7 separate regions of the Homo sapiens genome follow, and regions 2, 3, 4, 5, 6 and 7 are each linked to region 1. The links are contacts of gene promoters, found by promoter capture Hi-C in blood cells and fetal thymus (Javierre and others, 2016). All regions are on one chromosome and are shown on one strand. Each heading gives the region's core, a stretch centred on a gene start or on the middle of the fragment in contact. The rest is flanking DNA. Distances are from core to core; before and after follow the strand shown.

Evidence for each region. The method cuts DNA at HindIII sites, captures the fragments that hold promoters and counts their contacts. A CHiCAGO score of 5 or more calls a contact.
Region 2: a fragment that was not itself captured here is called in contact with the fragment with the promoter of COL28A1 in region 1 in 14 of 17 cell types (naive CD4 T cells, total CD8 T cells, activated CD4 T cells and 11 more); the score reaches 10.2 in naive CD4 T cells.
Region 3: a fragment that was not itself captured here is called in contact with the fragment with the promoter of COL28A1 in region 1 in 1 of 17 cell types (total CD4 T cells); the score reaches 5.8 in total CD4 T cells.
Region 4: a fragment that was not itself captured here is called in contact with the fragment with the promoter of COL28A1 in region 1 in 3 of 17 cell types (total CD4 T cells, non-activated CD4 T cells and naive CD8 T cells); the score reaches 6.6 in total CD4 T cells.
Region 5: a fragment that was not itself captured here is called in contact with the fragment with the promoter of COL28A1 in region 1 in 17 of 17 cell types (total CD4 T cells, total CD8 T cells, naive B cells and 14 more); the score reaches 31.8 in total CD4 T cells.
Region 6: a fragment that was not itself captured here is called in contact with the fragment with the promoter of COL28A1 in region 1 in 17 of 17 cell types (total B cells, naive B cells, total CD4 T cells and 14 more); the score reaches 34.5 in total B cells.
Region 7: a fragment that was not itself captured here is called in contact with the fragment with the promoter of COL28A1 in region 1 in 13 of 17 cell types (total B cells, activated CD4 T cells, total CD8 T cells and 10 more); the score reaches 15.6 in total B cells.

Annotation. Positions count from the first base shown.
Region 1 is chr7:7,534,570-7,537,148 of GRCh38, forward strand. It overlaps COL28A1 (collagen type XXVIII alpha 1 chain), which reads right to left and starts at 1,304. Exons shown (of 35, transcript NM_001037763.3): 1 at 1,181-1,304. The HindIII fragment of the contact is 1,663 bases long and covers 1,076-2,579 here.
Region 2 is chr7:7,030,453-7,033,031 of GRCh38, forward strand. All of the region lies in intron 1 of LOC105375138 (a long non-coding RNA gene), which reads left to right. Among named protein-coding and RNA genes, the nearest start is that of MIR3683, 35 kb to the right of the region's middle. The HindIII fragment of the contact is 1,493 bases long and covers 551-2,043 here.
Region 3 is chr7:7,046,507-7,049,085 of GRCh38, forward strand. All of the region lies in intron 1 of LOC105375138 (a long non-coding RNA gene), which reads left to right. Among named protein-coding and RNA genes, the nearest start is that of MIR3683, 19 kb to the right of the region's middle. The HindIII fragment of the contact is 7,534 bases long and covers 1-2,579 here.
Region 4 is chr7:7,075,116-7,077,694 of GRCh38, forward strand. The region is part of intron 1 of LOC105375138 (a long non-coding RNA gene); the gene reads left to right. It also overlaps the pseudogene LOC100131257. Among named protein-coding and RNA genes, the nearest start is that of MIR3683, 9.4 kb to the left of the region's middle. The HindIII fragment of the contact is 799 bases long and covers 895-1,693 here.
Region 5 is chr7:7,092,920-7,095,498 of GRCh38, forward strand. It overlaps LOC105375138 (a long non-coding RNA gene), which reads left to right. Exons shown (of 5, transcript XR_927009.3): 2 at 2,039-2,212. It also overlaps the pseudogene LOC100131257. Among named protein-coding and RNA genes, the nearest start is that of MIR3683, 27 kb to the left of the region's middle. The HindIII fragment of the contact is 1,165 bases long and covers 715-1,879 here.
Region 6 is chr7:7,109,423-7,112,001 of GRCh38, forward strand. It overlaps LOC105375138 (a long non-coding RNA gene), which reads left to right. Exons shown (of 5, transcript XR_927009.3): 5 at 21-1,853. Among named protein-coding and RNA genes, the nearest start is that of MIR3683, 44 kb to the left of the region's middle. The HindIII fragment of the contact is 4,408 bases long and covers 1-2,579 here.
Region 7 is chr7:7,126,707-7,129,285 of GRCh38, forward strand. No RefSeq gene overlaps it. Among named protein-coding and RNA genes, the nearest start is that of C1GALT1, 55 kb to the right of the region's middle. The HindIII fragment of the contact is 765 bases long and covers 928-1,692 here.

The sequences.
Region 1 (2,579 bases), core at 54-2,553:
GGCTGAGAACTGAATTCCATTGAGAACTGAGCAAGATTTTATAAGCAACATAATCAAGCAACTCTTCAAAACCCTTCATGTAAGGTTTTAGAAATACTGGCTTTAAATAAAGATTTATCTTTTCCCAAAACTAAGCACCTGCTCTTACTGTTTTCTTGGCATATAATCATGAATTTGTACCTGATCCCTGTATATATGATATTCACAAACATAACTTTTCCATTGACAATAATCCCAGTATCTCATATTTTGTTCTTATTTGCTCTGACATTGTTAATCTAGCTCTCCCAAACCAAAGTCTTGTTATTTCTTTCTGTTTCCCTATTGTAGCCAGAGGACATTTTCATACCTCTCTAGATTTGTTTCTCTAGCTTGTTAGTTCTACTGCTTCCCTGAAATATCTTTCTCGTTTATTAATTTGGCATCTTGAGAGCCCACTCATTTCTAATCACTTTTTACCATGTTTTATTTTGCCTCTGTTTTTAATAATTCTCACCTTTCTCTCTTTCTGATGTCACGTACAAGCAAAATAGGTTTCAGAGGAAACAGTGCCATTAGTTAAGTGAAAGAAATGTGAACCTCTGTGTTTACTATAGGTTACATTTTATAAATGCAGAAACAATCATAATTATTAATCAAATACCGTAGTTTTACTTTTGGCCTAAAATTTATTTGGGGTAAATATCAGGATCAGTAAATAAATCCAAGATACTTTATTTTTTATAATTTTTCAAAAATAAAATGATCTTATATCAGAGTTCACCAACTTTAGTTACAATGTTTGCATCTCAGTTTCTACACAAATAGAAAATGATTGAATAAAGACTTTATTCAAATTGACAAATTAGCCAAGTTGTAAAGTATTCTATAACTAATTCTGAATTGTAAACCCTGTTCCAAATTAAGAAAAAGATGTCCTAAAATATATTAACATCGTTGTAAAACAATTTAGAAGACTGTAAATTAAAAATCCATTTCAAAATAATTTTAAGTTTTAAATTTCTACATTTTAACAATGTTAATATTTTTCTAATAATTGATTTGAAGTAATTGCAGAGAATACAAACTATTGACAAGCTTTCTCACCTAATAATTATGTAAGTAAGTCATTTAGTCTTCCACAGTTCCTTGATGGTCCTATCTGATTTCAAGTGACTAAAATAAATCTGTTATGTCTTACCTTATAAAGTTTGTCAAACAGGAATTAAAGACTAGTTGAGTAAATGCCAACAGCAAGGACTGTGGTTGGGGGTGAAGTTAGCTATTTGATATTGTTCTGTTCTGTGGGAAATAAAAGTGTCTTTGCTTTAGGATCTTTTGCAGTCTTTTGTTCATGTTTATTCGACTAAGTCAAAGCAAGAGTGGTCAGGCATTTGGCCAGGGTGCAAGATCTGGGTGGGATCAGTAAGCAATTTAAAGGAACAGTGTCCTTTCAGAATGAGACTGTGTTTTCCAGACTATTGTAAAAACAACTTGAGAGAACTTTCTACATTTTAGGCATTGGTTGACAGCCTGCCTTTTTTTCTCATGCTATGTCCTTCTCTTTTTATTGCTACATTTCTTTGCCTGGGGGATGTGCTCTAAGATACTGGTTCTGAACATCTCTGTGAAGGAGTATAAATGACACCAGACTCAGAATCAAAGCTGTTTTTTTAAGAGAGGTAACAGTTTGATTGTTATTAAAGCTGGATGATGAGTACATAGGTGTGCATTGTTCTAGTCTTTGTATTTCTGTGATTTTTGAAATTTTTTATAATAAAAGGTATATATAATATACAGGGAAAGAGTGGTCTGAGTATAGTCATAGTTCTGCCCCTAACTTTTATGGGGGCTTCAGTTCCCCACTTATGAAATGAGAGAGTAGATTTAATCATTTATTAAGATGTGTTCGAACTGTAACATGAGAGGTTTACAGCGGTTAATATTTTGGTCTCTCTCTAGGAAAGGATCACTGTGGTTTTTCCACTCCCTGTTTCCCTATTTTCTACCTTGTGGTTATGGTCCATATTAAGTCAATGTTTATCATGTAATATATACTGCCAAGAAGCCACCTGACCCCTAGACAGCTAACAGGCAGGCTTCTCCACGGACTTCCTCTGAAATAGAGAATAGCAAGATCATCCGAGAAAGCAATACAAATGTGCATGTTACGGTTATTTAAAATGAACTTTCTTAGCCATTTTAATGTGTATGAATTTCCTTATTACAGCAATAATAGCCTCCAATTCATGGACACTTACCAGGTGCTAGGCACTGTCCTGAGTGCTTCACACACATTACCTCATTTAATCCTTCACAAGCACAACCACCTATATACAGTAAGTCCTCACTTAATGTCCTCTGTAGGTTCTGGAAACTGTGACATAAAGTGAAACAATTGATAATGAAGACAATTTTCCCAAGAGCTAATTGATATAAATAAGAGTTAAGCTCTTATGGCATATTCCTAGTCACAAAAACATCACTAAACCTCTAAATACTCAAAACACCTCTAATAATAAACATTGAAATAAATCTAAGCTATATATACATTTATGAAAGATTGATAAAAACAAGATAACTGCTTACCTGCATATTCC
Region 2 (2,579 bases), core at 47-2,546, 500 kb before region 1:
TATGATATTTTTCTGTTGGACTGATCCTTTTATCATTATATAATGTCCCTCTTTGTCTTTTTTTAACTGTTGTTGCTTTAAAGTCTGTTTTGTGAGATATAAGAATAGCTACCCCTGCTCACTTTTGGTTTCCATTTTCATGGAATATCTTTTCCCACTCATTTACCTTAAGTTTATGTGAGTCCTTGTGCATTGGGTAAGTCTCGTGAAGACAGCAGATACTTGATTGGTAGATTTTTCTCCATTCTGCCATTCTGTATCTTTTAAGTGGAGCATTTAAGCCATTTACATTCATTGTTAGTATTGCGATGTGAAGTACTGTGGTATTCATTTTTGCTACTTGTTGCCTAAATCCCTTTTTATAATTGTATTTTGTTTTCTAGGCCCTGTGAGATTTATGCTTTAAATAGGTTCTATTTTGGTATATTTTGAGGATTTGTTTCAACATTTAGAACTCCTTTTAGCATTTCTTGTAGCACTGGATTGGTAGTGGTGAATTCTTTCAGTATTTGTGTGTCTGAAAATGACTTTATCTCTCTTTCATTTATGAAGCTTAGTTTTGCTACAGCCAAAATTCTTGGCTGATAATTATTTTGTTTGAGGAGGCTAAAGATATGACCCCAATCCCTTTTGGCTTGCAGGATTTCTGCTGAGAAATCTGTTATTCATCTGATAGGTTTTCTTTTATAGGTTACTTAATGATTTTTGTCTCACAGCTCTTAACAATCTTTCCTTTATTTTGACTTTAGATAACCTGATTACTATGTGCCTGGGATTACTATCTTTCTGCGATGAATTTCACAGGTGTTCTTTGAGCTTCTTGTATTTGGATGTCTAGATCTTTTGCAAGGCCAGGGACATTTTTCTCAATTATTCCCTCAAATATGTTTTCCAAACTTTTAGATTTCTCTTCTACCTCAGGAATACCAATTATTCTTAGATTTGGCCATTTAACATAATTCCAAGTTTCTTGGAGGCCTTCTTCATTTTTACCAAATTCCTTCTTCTTTGTTTTTGTCTGATTGAATTAATTTGAAAAGCCTTGTATTTGAGCTCTGAAGTTCTTTCTTCTACTTGTTTGATTCTATTGTTGAAACTTTCCACTGCATTTTGTATTTCTCTAAGTCTGTCTTTCATTACTAGAAGTTGTTATTTAAAAAATATATATATACACATATATATACTTATACACATATATACATACATATATATATAGACACATACATATATATATATATAATACGTGGAGCATTTTTCATCCATATCCTGTTTTTTTTAATTTAAGTTAGTCTCCACCTTTCTCTGTTATCTCCTTGAGTAGCTTAATAATCAACCTTCTGAATTCTTTGGCAATTTAGAGCTTTCTTCTTGGTTTGGATCCATTGCTAAGGAACTAGTGTGGTCTTTTAGGGATGTTACAGAACCTTGTTTTGTCATATTGCCAGACTAACTTTTCTGATTCCTTCTCATTTGGGTAGACTATTTCTGCACAAAAGTCTGGAACTCAAGGGCTACTGTTCAGATTCTTTTGTCTCATGAAGTGGTCCCTTGGTGTGGTGTGTTCCCCCTTTCCCTAGGGATGGGGCTTCCTGTTAGCCAGACTGCAGTGATTCTTATTGCTCTTCTTGGTCTAGCCACCCATTTGGGCTACTGAGCTCTGGGCTGGTGCTAGATAATGTCTCCAAACAATCCTGTGATGTGATCCATCTTCAGGTCTCCCATTCATGGATACCAGCACCTGCTCTGGTGGAGGTGGCAGGGGAGTGAAGCAGACTCTGTGACAGTCCTCGGTTGTAGATATTTTTAGTGTGCTGGCTTCTTAAATACTTGTTACGCTAGCAGTGAAGTTGTTACATGGACACACTCAGGACACACTCTGGTTAGCCAGGATGTTGCGGGCAGTGGAATTAGCTGTTGCCTTGTTCTTCCTGGGATCAGGCTTATTTTGTCATGAGTTGCTATAAGGATCTGAGTTGGTTGGCCTCCAGCCAGGAGGTGGTGCTTTCAAGAGGGCACCAGCTATGATAGTAGAAGGTGGATATAAGCTTGCCCTAAGTTGACCAGGGTAACTATTTGGGTTTCTCAGGCAATGGGAAGGGTCATAAAGCTCCCAAGAGTTTATATTTTGTGATACGCTACCAGGACAGGTAGAGAAATACCATCAGGTGGGAGCAGGGTTAGGTGGGTCTGAGCTCAGACACTTGAGTGGGGCTTGTTGTGACCACTGTGGGGGATAGGGGGTAGTTCTTGGGCCAATAGGCTTATGTTCCAGAGGAAATTATGGCTGCATCCGTGGCTAGGGAAGTGGTGGAAAGGCATTAGTGATAGGCCTTACCCAGTTCCCACGTGTTGGTGAGACTGGTATCTTTTCCACTGTACCCTGCTAACAGCGCTAAGTTTGTCTCCAGGCAGCCTGTCCACAGGACTCAGACCTTACCCCAGACTATAAGTTTCCCCACTGAGAAAGCAAGCAAGGCTTTCAGGCCATGCCCCTTCCTGTCTGTCCACACTGTCTGCCTCAACTCCTGCTCTACTCTTTGAGGCAATTCCTGTTCACCCCCAGATTCTGCTCAAGAAAG
Region 3 (2,579 bases), core at 57-2,556, 490 kb before region 1:
TGCCACTGCACTCCAGCTTGGGCAACAGAGTGAGACACTGTCTTGAAAAAAAAAAAAAAAGAAAGAAAACATTGATGCAGTTTTGCTCTGCCTAATACAGCCTGTATGGAAGGTCTCCGTGGTCTCCTTGCTTTCATTCCTGGCCCTGCCTGCCTTCCACACCCACTCACAAATTATCCTCTGTAGCAGAGGGATCTATGCAAACCATAAATCAGGTCACTCAATATAAAACCATACCTGCAAGTACCTTCCCAAGCCAGTGCTTGATCTAAGTTGTTTCAAGTAGGGCCTAGGAATCTTATATTGTCTAATATGTCCAGGAGATTCTAACTTAGCCAAGACTGAACACCCCTGGCCTAGAGCTGTACTTCTCAAAATTTAACTTAACGGGTCTCTGAACTACACTTTCTCCTGGACAGCCTCTTTAGTAGGCTTTCTACTTCCTCTCTTGTTCCTGCATGATCTATTTTTGATATGCTGTTGCCGTTTGATATGCATGTTGTCCAGGAGACCCATTAAGGCTGAGTGGATCCCGATATGCTGCATTTCTAACAAGCTCCCAGGTGGTGCTGGTGCTGCCTCCCGAGGACTATACTCTGAGCAGCCAGAGCCTAGAAGGGAAAAACATTGCTCCCCTCTACCTAAACCACCCTTGTTCATCATTACTAGCAACTATATTTTCCACCCTTTACCCAACCTTCTGGACCTGGTAATCTGCAGCCAGCCCGCTCAAGATTGCCTGACAGGACCTTCAGGGCAGACTTTTATAGATGAAAGAATGACATAATGATGGTGCGCACTAGGAACAGATCAGAATATGTGAGAAACACTATTTTTTTCCCAGTGTACAGCAGGCTTTCTTCTGGTAAAATTAAGCAAAACTCAGCCCTGCCCTGCCCAGTTAGAGACTAGTTCATCAAGGGGGCAGGTTGAAATTTAGCCACAGTACCCTCCTATGCCTGATATGCAACTAAAAAGCAGTGACTGTCAACCTTTTAACTATCATGACCTCCCTAAGGAGCCTTTTTAGACTTTTTTTTTTCCTGATCACACCCTCCGTATAAAATGTCAATACCACAGATATACGATATATATGGTTATGAACTCTTGACCTTTGTAGGACTACAAACCATTAAATGAGACCTAAGAATTTTTGGCCGCTCCCTGTGGGCAATACAACCCTCATTGAGAATGCATGATTGAGATCCATTCGCTCATTCCAGTCAGCTAGATTCCAGGCCTGGTGTGTAGACCACATGTTTGGACACATTTCTCCAGCTTTCCCTACCAGGCCAAGTGGTGGAGAGGACACTATCTTTAGAATCACACAAATCAAGTTAAAACCAAGCCTCAGCCATTTACAAGTTGTAGGACTCTAAGCAAGAATCTTTACCTCTCTTATCCTAAGTGCCCCAACTGTTAAATGGAATTAAAATACTCACACTGAAAATTTGCTGTAAGGTGTAGAGGTGAGGTAATGTTCCTGTAAAGTATAAACTGTAGTGTCCAGGGCAGGACAGGTATTCAAGAAATAGTAGTAACTGGCCATAATTTAGTGGTGGCCCTCCACAGCTTTCTATTTCCTTTGAGATTAGATTCATTACACCTGGGCTCAGTAGCGCCTTGATGGCCCAGTACACCAGCCCAGTACAACTGCAGAGTTAGATGTCTCTCTCGTCATGCCCCAGTGCAGAAAAAAGAAAGACACACCTTCCCTAAGTATCTACCTGAGAACCAGGGCATCTTGAAGCAGTTCCGGGAGTTTGATTAAAGTGGAGTGGGGAGCTGAGAAGGATTTGTCAGCACAAGCAAAGGTACAATCTGCATCCAAGGCCACTGCTATCAGTTTGTAGCCCTGACCCAGTCTCTTCGACTCAACACTACCCTTGACGCCCATCTTCTGGATAAGAATAAGCCTAGTCAGCCTACGTCTACCACACTACACTTTATCTCAAATGCTCCTGGACAATCTGACTACAGTTCCATTTCAAGAATCATCTTTAACCTCATTTGCCACATTGGTCCTAATTTGTCTTTTGAAATACACTTCCTGCCAAACAGTACTAGCTATCTGTTAGAGAGCAAAGAGATTTTCCATTTTCTCAAACTACCCGCCACCTAGTTTATAACCTCAACCTCAGTGTTTATCCCAATTTTGCAGAGTACCATTGATATGCTTAGGCCACTCAAATCTCATCTTGAATTTTAATCCCCAAAATCCCCACATGTCAAGGGAGAGACCAGGTGGAGGTAATTGAATCACGGGGGGCAGCTTCCCCAATGCTGTTCTCCTGATACTATGTGAGTTCTCATGAAATCCAATGGGGCTCTTCCCCCTTTGCTCAACCCTTCTTCCTGCCACCTTATGAAGAAGGTGTCTTGCTTTCCCTTCACTTTCTGCTGTGATTGTGTTTCCTGAGGCTTCCCCAGCAATGCTGAACTGTGAGTCAATTATACCTCTTTCCTTTATAAACTATCCAGTCTTGGGTAGTTCTTTATAGCAATATGAAAATGGACTAATACAACTATTCAAAGCTGTCATTGAATATCTTCTCCTGTCAAGCTCCCAACCACAACAG
Region 4 (2,579 bases), core at 44-2,543, 460 kb before region 1:
TTTAGAAAAGGAGATGACGTTACTCCTAATATTGAACAGGGTGTATATTCTCTGTGATACTATTATTTGTAATATACAAGGAAAGATATAATGTTACTCCTAATATCGCATGGGACGTACACTCTTTGTGATGCTATTATTCATAATATCCATGGGAGGAGATCATGTTCCTTCTAATATCACATTGGATGTACACCCTCTGTGATGCTATTATTTGTAATATCCGAGGGAGGAGATGATGTTACTCCTAATATTGCATGGTTACACCCTCTGTGATGTTATTGTTCGTAATATCCAAGGGAGTAGATGATGTTACTTGTAATATCCCACGGAATGTACACCCTCGGTGATACTATTATTCATAATATCCAAGGAAGGAGATTATATTCCTTCTAATGTCACAAAGGTGTACATCCTTGGTGATATTATTATTCATAATATCCAAAAAAGAAGACTATATTATTCCTAATATCACAGGGGGTGTACACCCTTAGTGACATTATTCATAATATCCATGGCGTATGATGACATTGCCACTAATATCACCGTGGGTGGTCACCCTTTGTGACATTATTCATAATATTCATGAGAGATAATTATATTGCCACAAATATCCCCATGGGCGGACATTATGTGACATTATGTCACATAATGAGGTGACAATATGTCACCTCTGTGACATTATTCGTAATATCCAAAGGAGATGATGATGTTGCCCCTCGTGGGTGGACTCCCTCTGTGATACTTTTTGTAAAGGAGGATTATAGAGTGAGCAATATATTTTTATATATTTGTTGAGGGTCCCTAGCAAATATTATAACATCTGAACTATGAAAGCCTGGCTTGACAACTAGAATTTTAAATAACACTTGTCTTATTCACAAAATGTTATAAAGCTTAAGATGGAAAAATATAAAATGCTTTGACATTACCTAAAGAAGCATGAGCTCTTGTTAGGTATATGATGGTGGCCCTGAACTTGAGCCGACATCTATAATCCCTTTTATCAATCAAAAAGCCATGTTCTTTTATATGGCATGCAGACTATTAAAATACGAAAATGTGATAATGGATAAGCAACTAACACAAAGCCCCCACACTTCAAATACTGTCCTGGATTGATGAGGGAAGACTGGTTGGTGTGGGGGTGGGGGAGAATTCAAATATTTATCTGCAATCCTAATGGTTAAAATTTTACCAGGAACAGACCTGCCACTCTCTTGAAATACTGTCTCTGAGATTAACGTTAAGAACAGCATCATCTCTGTTGAAAGGCTACATTCCCTTATGATGCTGATTTTTTTTTTGTATGTTTTTGTTTTTTGTTTTGTTTTGTTTTGTTTTGAGATGGAGTCTTGGCCAGCTGGAGTGCAGTGGCGATCTCGGCTCACTGCAACCTCCGCCTGCCAGGATCAAGCGATTCTCCTGCCTCAGCCTCCTGAGTAGCTGACACTACAGGCACGTGCCACCACGCCTGGCTAATTTTTATATTTTTAACAGAGACAGGGTTTCACCATGTTGGCCAGAATGGTCTCCACCTCCTGACCTCGTGATCCACCCGCCTCAACCTCCCAAAGTGCTGGGATAACAGATGTGAGCCACCGCACCCAGCCTGTGTATGTTCTTTGTGTTTACCGTACCAAAAGCAGACCTGAGCATTTTGCTGGCCTTAGAGGTCTATAAAAGAACTCTAAGCTTAGGCATGCAGAACAGGCACTGGATGTATGTAGTGAGCTTACCAGGAGTCTTGTTGGCTCCCTGATGTCCTTATCATCTCTCTTTGCAGGCTGTGGATGCACACAAGGCAACTAAAATCTTGGGCATCGTTTGAAAATGTTTGGCTGCCTGCTACAAACTCAGAAGAGAGAACACTTACTTATATTCATACTTGTATTGGACTGGATATATTTTAAATCCAATTCTTTTTTAAAAAAGATGCCTCACTTTAGGAAATAAGACATCAGACCAGCAACATCAACTAGGTATGGAATACTTGCTGGTGAGACACTTAAAACTAGGAATCTTCTAAATCTTCTAAAGGTGCTTAAGAGCATGGAGAAATCAATAAACAGGCATCCAAGTGTTGTGGCTGTAAAGCAATAACATAGGGTCCCTAGTAAAGAGTAGGCCTAAGAGTTGGTTTTGGAGAGAACTTGGGCCAAGAACAGCAGAAAAAGCTAAATGAGCTACTTATGTTGATGTGTTTTAATACTGGTGCATTCGCAGTATCTTATGGAAGTTGTGAACACTAAGAACCAATTTCAAGAAAAATAAAAATGTTTATAGGGCATATTAAAATAAAAACAGCTTAAATTAGTTCTGTAAATAAAATAGGCCTAGCACAGTGACTGATGCCTGTAACTCCAGCACTTTGGGAGGACAAGGTGAGAAGATCACTTGAGGCCAGGAGTTCGAGACCAGCCTGGGCAACAAAGTGAGACCCCATCTCTGTTCTTTTTAATATCAAAATTATTATAATAAAAAAGTAAAAATAAATGTACCTACTTAGAACACATATTAAATAAAGGAATGCCATGAGAAAATGGCACTGCATTTACCAAGTCACCACTAGATTCTTG
Region 5 (2,579 bases), core at 47-2,546, 440 kb before region 1:
AGACAGGGTCTCATCATGTTGCCCAGGCTGGTCTGGAACTCCTGGGCTCAAGTGATCTGCCCACCTCAGCCTCCCAAAGTGCTGGGATTACAGGTGTGGGCCACTGTGCCCGGCCTATAATATTTTAAATTGTAAAATTAAAACATTAATAAGTTTCTAAACCTGAATCTAACATGTGGCTTTATGTCCTGATAACTCCACATGATGTTACGATGATTAAAGGAGTAAATTCATGAAAAACACTTAGGACAGTGTCTGGCACAAGCTAAGTGTTCAGGAAATTATTATTATTAGTGTTGCATCTTAATGGTCTCAAGCTATTATTTTTCACCCATCATATTTAGTGTAAAATAGAATTTGGCCCTGGGAATCAATGACCACATACATGGTATAACTAATCTCAAATATTTAAATTGACTAAGATATCTATGTTTCATTAAGGTAATCTTGGCCCATAGAGTCTAACTAGATCAATCGTTTACAATCATTAAAAGAAAAAAAAGTGAAGCACATAATGCAAAAACATTTCACAGGACTCCATGTGATATAAATTATATAAATTGTTATTTTGTTTTATCCCCTAGCTGAAAAAAATACATAAAGAGTAAAAGCTACCATAAATCCTCTAATGCTTTGAAATTAATTTGTATTTTGTTTTTGACAACGTATATTTGAAAATTTATATTTGAGCCATATTCATTCACACGGCAGTTAAGCTTGTAGAATATACAGATTCACTGGCGTTTTAATAGCTTAATGAGCTCCTGGGAAGCCATGGCTAGCCATTAGGAATAATGAGTTAGAAAGGTCAGCAAAACCTTTTCTGCAAAGGGCCAGAGAGTAAATATATTAGGCTCTGCTGGCCATGTATGTCTCTGTTGAAACAACTCAACTTTGCCATTGTAGCAGTGGGCAACATGTAAACAAATGGGTGTAGCTGTGTTCCAATAAGACTTCACTTTCAAAAGCCTCAGCCCACACTGAAGGTGGGGAGGTTATGCAAAGGTGTAAATGCCAGGCAGCAGGCATCACTGGGAGTCCTCGCAGAGGCTGCTGGCCACATAACCCAATGCTCACGATCCCCAAAGTGTATTTGGAGGAACATGAATTGTTGATGTGTTTGGGAATTTTTTTGAAGCTGCATTTTATATTTAAACTATATTTTCAAAATTTCACACAGGAGCTTCAATCAAGCTGTGTAATAAGTATATGGGAGTCATTTATATTATTCTCTATAATTTATTTGTAATATATCAAAACAAAAATGCCTCAAAAATATACAGTAAAAGAATCAAACACATTCCTAGAGTTGTTTTTATGAACAATCTGTTTATATAGTGCTGGTTTATGTTTTATATCTTGTCATAATTTTAACATATGTTTAAGTATGAATGTTTATATAATAGTAAGTTTCTCTCATAGACCATCTCTCTTCTGCTTACCACATTTCCTTTAACACCCTAATTACAACGACTCTGAGATTCTACCTGAAAAATTAGCAAGATGCCCCCACATTCTAGCTTTTCTCTCCACAAATATTGAGGAAAGTCCCAGCTTTGTTTACACATGTCCTTGAGTCAGACCTCATTGCCACCTACTGATGTGATATAATTTGGGTGTGTGTCTCCTCCAAATCTCATGTTCAAATGTGACCTCCAATGTTGCAGATGAGCCTAGTGAGAGGTGTTTGGGTCACGGGGGCAAATCTTTCATCAATGGCTTGGTGCCATCCCAATGGTAATGAGTGAGCTCTCATTCTGGCAGTTCACACGAGAGCTAGGTTATTTAAAGGAGACTGGGACCTCCTCCTCCCTCTCTTACTACCTCTCTCCTGCCATGTGATATGTCCACTTCCCCTTTGTCTTCCACTATGAATGGAAGCTTCCTGAGGCCCTCCCGAAGCAGATGCTGTTATCATGCTTCTTACACAGAACTATGAGCCAAATAAACCTCTTTTCTTTATAAATTACCCAGCCTCAGGCATTCCTTTATAGCAATGCAAGGTAGACTAACACGTGATGCTCATTTTTTTTTAAAGCCTGCAAACAGTAAGAAGATTCCCCTCTCTTTCTCAGTGGATGTAAAGCAGTGATTCTGCATAAATGTATCAACACTATAGCTCAACTCCTTCTGGAGTGGACTTCCCCTAGACCTGGAGAGCGAGTCCTGCCTAGCATACACGGCCTGAAGTTCGAGATCTCTTCCAATTCAGGTAATATTCCGCTTTCTGTATGCCTGATCTCTACATATATCTGACATTGATTTTTAACTCAAATGAGGAAACAGGAAATTATTAATTACAATCTCCTAAAACTACAACAGGTGTTATAAAACTTCTGAATATAAACAGGCAGACAGCAAAAATGTACACAGGCATAAAATGTAAACTTGAGTGAGAAAAAGGAGCTGAAAAATGAAAGGCTCGCTTTGAAACAAAACAGCACTGAAGAGTCTACAAAGAGAGAGTGACTGGAGAGAGACTGATGTGGGAGAGCAGAATGGGGATCAGATTATAATGAGTATCTCTCCCACACTAAGGAATTTGCAGCTTTTTTTGATAGGCAATAAAGAGTTACATA
Region 6 (2,579 bases), core at 25-2,524, 430 kb before region 1:
AAGAATGTCACTTCTAACAGGCGTAGAGGCCCCCGGTTTATCTTGGAACCTCAAGAGGAGAGAAAATTCACCCAACTCACAGGTATTTGATGGCACAAATCCATGGCTGGGCTCTGCTTTAAAAACATCTTATCTGGTATTCCTTCTATGGAACAAGGTTCCATCAAAGCCAATATAAAGCCTATGTAAAAAATAATTTTTTTTGCACTGTATATAAGTAATTAGGCCAAGTATAATAAAGCAAACCAATCCTACCATGATTTGTCTTTAGCAAAAATGGGAAACTGGAGAGAGAAAAATTATGTTTCAAAAACAATTGTACACCTGTTGTTAGATTCTAGTCTTGTCTAATGTTTTTCAATTTTTATTATTTCTACAGTTTGGGCTAAATTCTAATTTTCTCTTGACTACAAGTCTTCAAAATAATGTTTTCAATTTTTTTTTTCTTTTTTTTCCTTCTTTTTTTTTTTTTTTTTCAATTTTTCCTAACTGGGAGTCACTGAAAACCAAGCTGTGCTTTCTTAAAGCCCTGCAAACTGAAACTAGACAACTTAAAGTTCAGAAGAAAATAACAGCCACCTATTTACATGCATAAGCCACTTTCATACCTGCTACTGATTTATAGACTTCAGAGTAGTGGGGCCTATATTGATTTTCCAGGAGTGTTCTTTTGTTTGTTGTTTTTCTCCCTTCTTCTTCCACTATTTGCTCTTCTAGGAATAAACCATCCTAGCCATGAAAGATCAGGTGAAACCTGAGACCAGAGACTAATTTTCTAGTTAAATGCCATCTCCAAAATATTTTTAAAAAGAAAAGAGGGTAAATGTGAAAGGAAAACAAATCTTGAGGCCCCCAAATCACTAAGCTAAAGGGAAAAAGTTATGCTGGGAACTGCTTAGGGCAAATCTGCCTCCCATTCTATTCAAAGTCACCCCTCTGCTCACTGAGATGCATAGCTGATTGCCTCTTTTGGAAGGACTAAGCAGAAGCTCAAAATAATGCAACCCTTCCTGTCTCACCTGTCTTTTTACATATATTGACTGTACTTCTTATATATATTGATTGATGTCTCGTGTCTCCCTAAAATGTATAAAACTAAGCTGTACCCCAGCCACCTTGAGCACATGTTGTCAGGACCTCCTGAGGCTGTGTCATGGGGACATCCTCAATCTTGGCAAAATAAACTTTTAAATTAACTGAGACCTGTGCCAAATTTTCAGAGTTCACAGGAAGAAAGACAACCCTCCTTTATACGTTGCTCTGGGCCTCTGCATTGCCTGGATGGGAACTCTGGGATAGATGCTTTTAGAAGGGTCTACTGAACCCATGAGCCATTCCCTTCTCTGGAAATGGCTCCCCAAGTAATAGCTTGGGCTTCTAGGAATCCTGTTGGTAGTCTGTAACTCCCTACTCATCTGGATATAGTTAATTGGAAAATTTGACCTAGTTTGAGCTAATCATTTTTCTTCTCAGGAATGTGGAATCCAGACCAAAGGAAAGCCAGCCAGTCTATTTTCATGGCTGTTAGGTACAATTTGTATGCTTGGGAGCTGTGGAGTTGCTGTATTCTGTCATAAGGGCAGATCAGCAGAGAAAGCTAAAGCAAGAGGAGAATAGTAACATGGACACAAGGCAGAAATGCAGAGATCAAAGATGGAAAGAGAATATATCCCAGATTCCTAATGGCTTTCCAAAACTGATCCCCTTCTTTCTTGTTCCCCAAATACTGCCCTCTTCATATGGCCCTTAAATTCTTGTAATAAATTCTCCCTTCTTTGTTTAGGCCATTTCAAATTGGTTTCTGTTTCTTGCAACCAGACACCTTAAAAAAAATAAACTCAAATTTTCTTTCATGCTCCCTTTTTGCATGGTAATTAAGAGCATAGAATGTGGAGTAAAAGAGATAAAACTTTAAATTTCAGCTCCTTCATTCACTAGTTGAAAACCTAGTAGAAAAACTTAATCACTTAAACTCTCTGAGCTTTAATTTCCATATCTGGAAAAGGGGAATACTTTTAGCTATCTAAAAGCATATGGGTGTCAAACAAATATAACGACGTATATAAAATGCTAATTATAGTACCTGGCACAAAAGAAATACTTAATTAGTGGTAATAATGATTACATATTTATTCAATAAATACTTATCGATTACTAACTATACAAAAGTTAGATGACCTGAAGTGTACAAATATATTCAAGATTTAATCTCTGCTCTCAGACATGTACATAAATATCCATAATAGAAGACATTATAGAATAATAAAGGGTACATGAATGTTTTTAAAAAACAAGGACTCTAGGTCATAATCAAAGAAATGCAAATTAAAACCACAGTGCAATGCCATCAGAATCAGAAAAATAAAATAGATTAAAGGCCGGGCATGGTGGCTCACGCCTGTAATCCCAGCACTTTGGGAGGCCAAGGCGGACGGATCACGAGGTCAGGAGATCGAGACCATCCTGGCTAACATGGTGAAACCCCGTCTCTACTAAAAGTACAAAAAATTAGCTGGGTGTGGTGGTGGGCACCTGTAGTCCCAGCTACTCGGGAGGCTGAGGCAGGAGAATGGCATGAG
Region 7 (2,579 bases), core at 60-2,559, 410 kb before region 1:
GGTTGCAAATCATTTGCTATTCCTGCTATTGAGTTTAATTCTCCTCACTTTGAATCTGGAGCGAGTCTTAGTACTTTGCTTTACTAATAGAATGTGACAAGTGATCCTCTAGGACTTCCAGTGTGTCTCTTAGAATGCTTGCTCTAGGGGAAACTAACCATTATGTAAGAACTCCAGGTATCTGGGACCACCATGTATAGGGAAGCCCAAGATATCCCCCTGATAAATCTGCATAGACATGGCACTAGGCCTAGCTATTCCAGCCGTCCCAACCAAGACATCAGACATGTGAGAAGAAGTTGTCTGGCAGCATCTTGGCTACCTCTGTGAACATGAAGTAGAGAAGAAGCAAGGAATCCAACTAACAGCCAGAACCAAGGGTTCACACCTATGGTCCCAGGTGAACTATCCTAGCCAACTAACTAGATATGACTTAAAACAAGGTAGTCAGCCTGTCTGTGCTACAGATGAGTTATCTTAAATGAGATTATGTCAGTTGTCATTCTTATGTCTCTCTGAATGCTGGAATGAAGAAAATAGTGTGAGCAGAATAGTTAACATAGCAGGCCTGAGCCTGCTATCCTTAGAAAGGCCCACTTACAAGATCAGCCCTTAGCTGGCATCTGGGAACTTGGCTGGTAAAAAGTTTCCTGCACACCTTTAAAAATTTGCCTAAATAACAAAGGTGACTCACTATGGCTATACTGTTTGTGTAAACAGCATGTTTATGGTGAACACCTCCCTGGGAGGGGAGCCTGGAATTTTGGTATATGGTAGGAAGAGGGTTCCTATTTGACAAGCCTTCAATAAAAGAAACCTTGGACACCAAGTCTCTTCTGAGCTGGCCCAGTAGAAAGCACTTTGCATGTGTTGCCACAACTCATTGCTGAAGGAATTAAGCCACTCCACTATGAAAGAACCCTTGGAAGCTTGTGCCTGGTTTTCTCCTGGTTTTGCCTCATGTGCCTTTTCCCTTTTTTGATTTGGCTTTCTATCTTTTCATGGTAATAATATCAGCCATAAGTACAAATACATGCTAAATTATTTGAATCCTTTTACCAAATCATTGGAAATGAGGGGTGGTCTTGGGAACCCCTGACACACAGCATTCTAAAAATTGTGAGAGAAAAGTTGGGAGAAATGAGATTGCTCTTCTACTTTCTTTTTACAGAAGGAGATTTCTCTCCTACCTTTCCCATGTTCTTCCTCTTTTCTTCTTCTTTCCCAGAATATGCATGCTGGACTTCCTTATTTATTCCCCACCAAAGTCCACAGTGGCCTGTGGACATAAACATAACTCTCAGAGACAACACTCAGTTCCTCAGCCCTGGAAAAGCTATGTAACTGCTATCTTGCATACAAATACAAGATTGGTTTCGCCTGTATTTTACTTTTTATCTAGTTGTGTTTACTTTGTAGGGGTATAGTATACAGACCTTTATCTTATTGGGCTAAAGATATTGAAATTTATTTTTAAAGCATTTACCTAAAGACTAAACTAATGATAAAAAGTGTTTTCCTTGCAATTACATAGCAGCCTTCTTATATTTTTGGCTAATCTCTAAAAGAACTGACACTACAGCAGGAATGTATGTCTACCGCATAAAATCTATGCAGCATCTCCTGCTATGTAGTATATCCTTCTCATATCATACAATATGCATGACTTATTTTCAGATGATTTTCCTGATAAGCTTTGTGATTATATTTTGACAGGTCTGAGTATCGTTTCTTTAATCTTGGAGAATGACAAGAGCTTAGGCACTATGACAAGCAAAGTTCTTGGATTTGGCTCTAAAAATTACTGACTGAGCACAGTATATTTTAAGAATTCATGCAAGAAGCCAGTAAACTACTGAGAATTGTGTGCAGGAATTCTGTTAAGTACTTAAAATCACGTTGTAGACATAGAGACTGAGAGTTAGGAGACCAAGTTGTGACCTGGTCTATGTTTTAAAGATATGGCCTTGGGAAATAATTTATCCTAATGGGACCTCTGTTACACCAGCTGTAAAATGACAGGTTTGAGTGAATCATTTTTTTCCATCTCAAACATTCTATGGTTCAATGATAATAGAAAGTGTGGGATAAGTGTCAAATGAGAGGATACAAGTGTATTTCATAGGAGGAAGAAGTCCCCAGAGGCTGAAATGAGAGACTTTAGTTGGCCAAACAGAGAGAGATACTTCTGGGGAAAGGAGCTTGAGTGAAGGTAAAGAGACACAGTGCACTTTGTGGGATCTTAGTGAAATGTCAATGTGCAATAATAATGATATTAATAATAGTTAACCTTTATGGAGCACTCACTAAGGTAATATGTGTTATCTCATTTAATTTCCACACCAATCCTAGGTATTATTATTATTCCCATTTTACAGAAGAGAAAACAGGCACAGAAAGATTCAGAATTTGCATGAGGTCAAATAGCAAGTGGTAGAATCCACATGTGAACCTAGGCAATCTGATACTCCAGAGAGTAACTTCTAATTACTGCTGTGGCAGCAATGCATGTAAGTCAGAAATAAAATGCTCCATAGAAGCACTATAGTTTTCGTGAATTTGACTGGAAAACTAGCAGT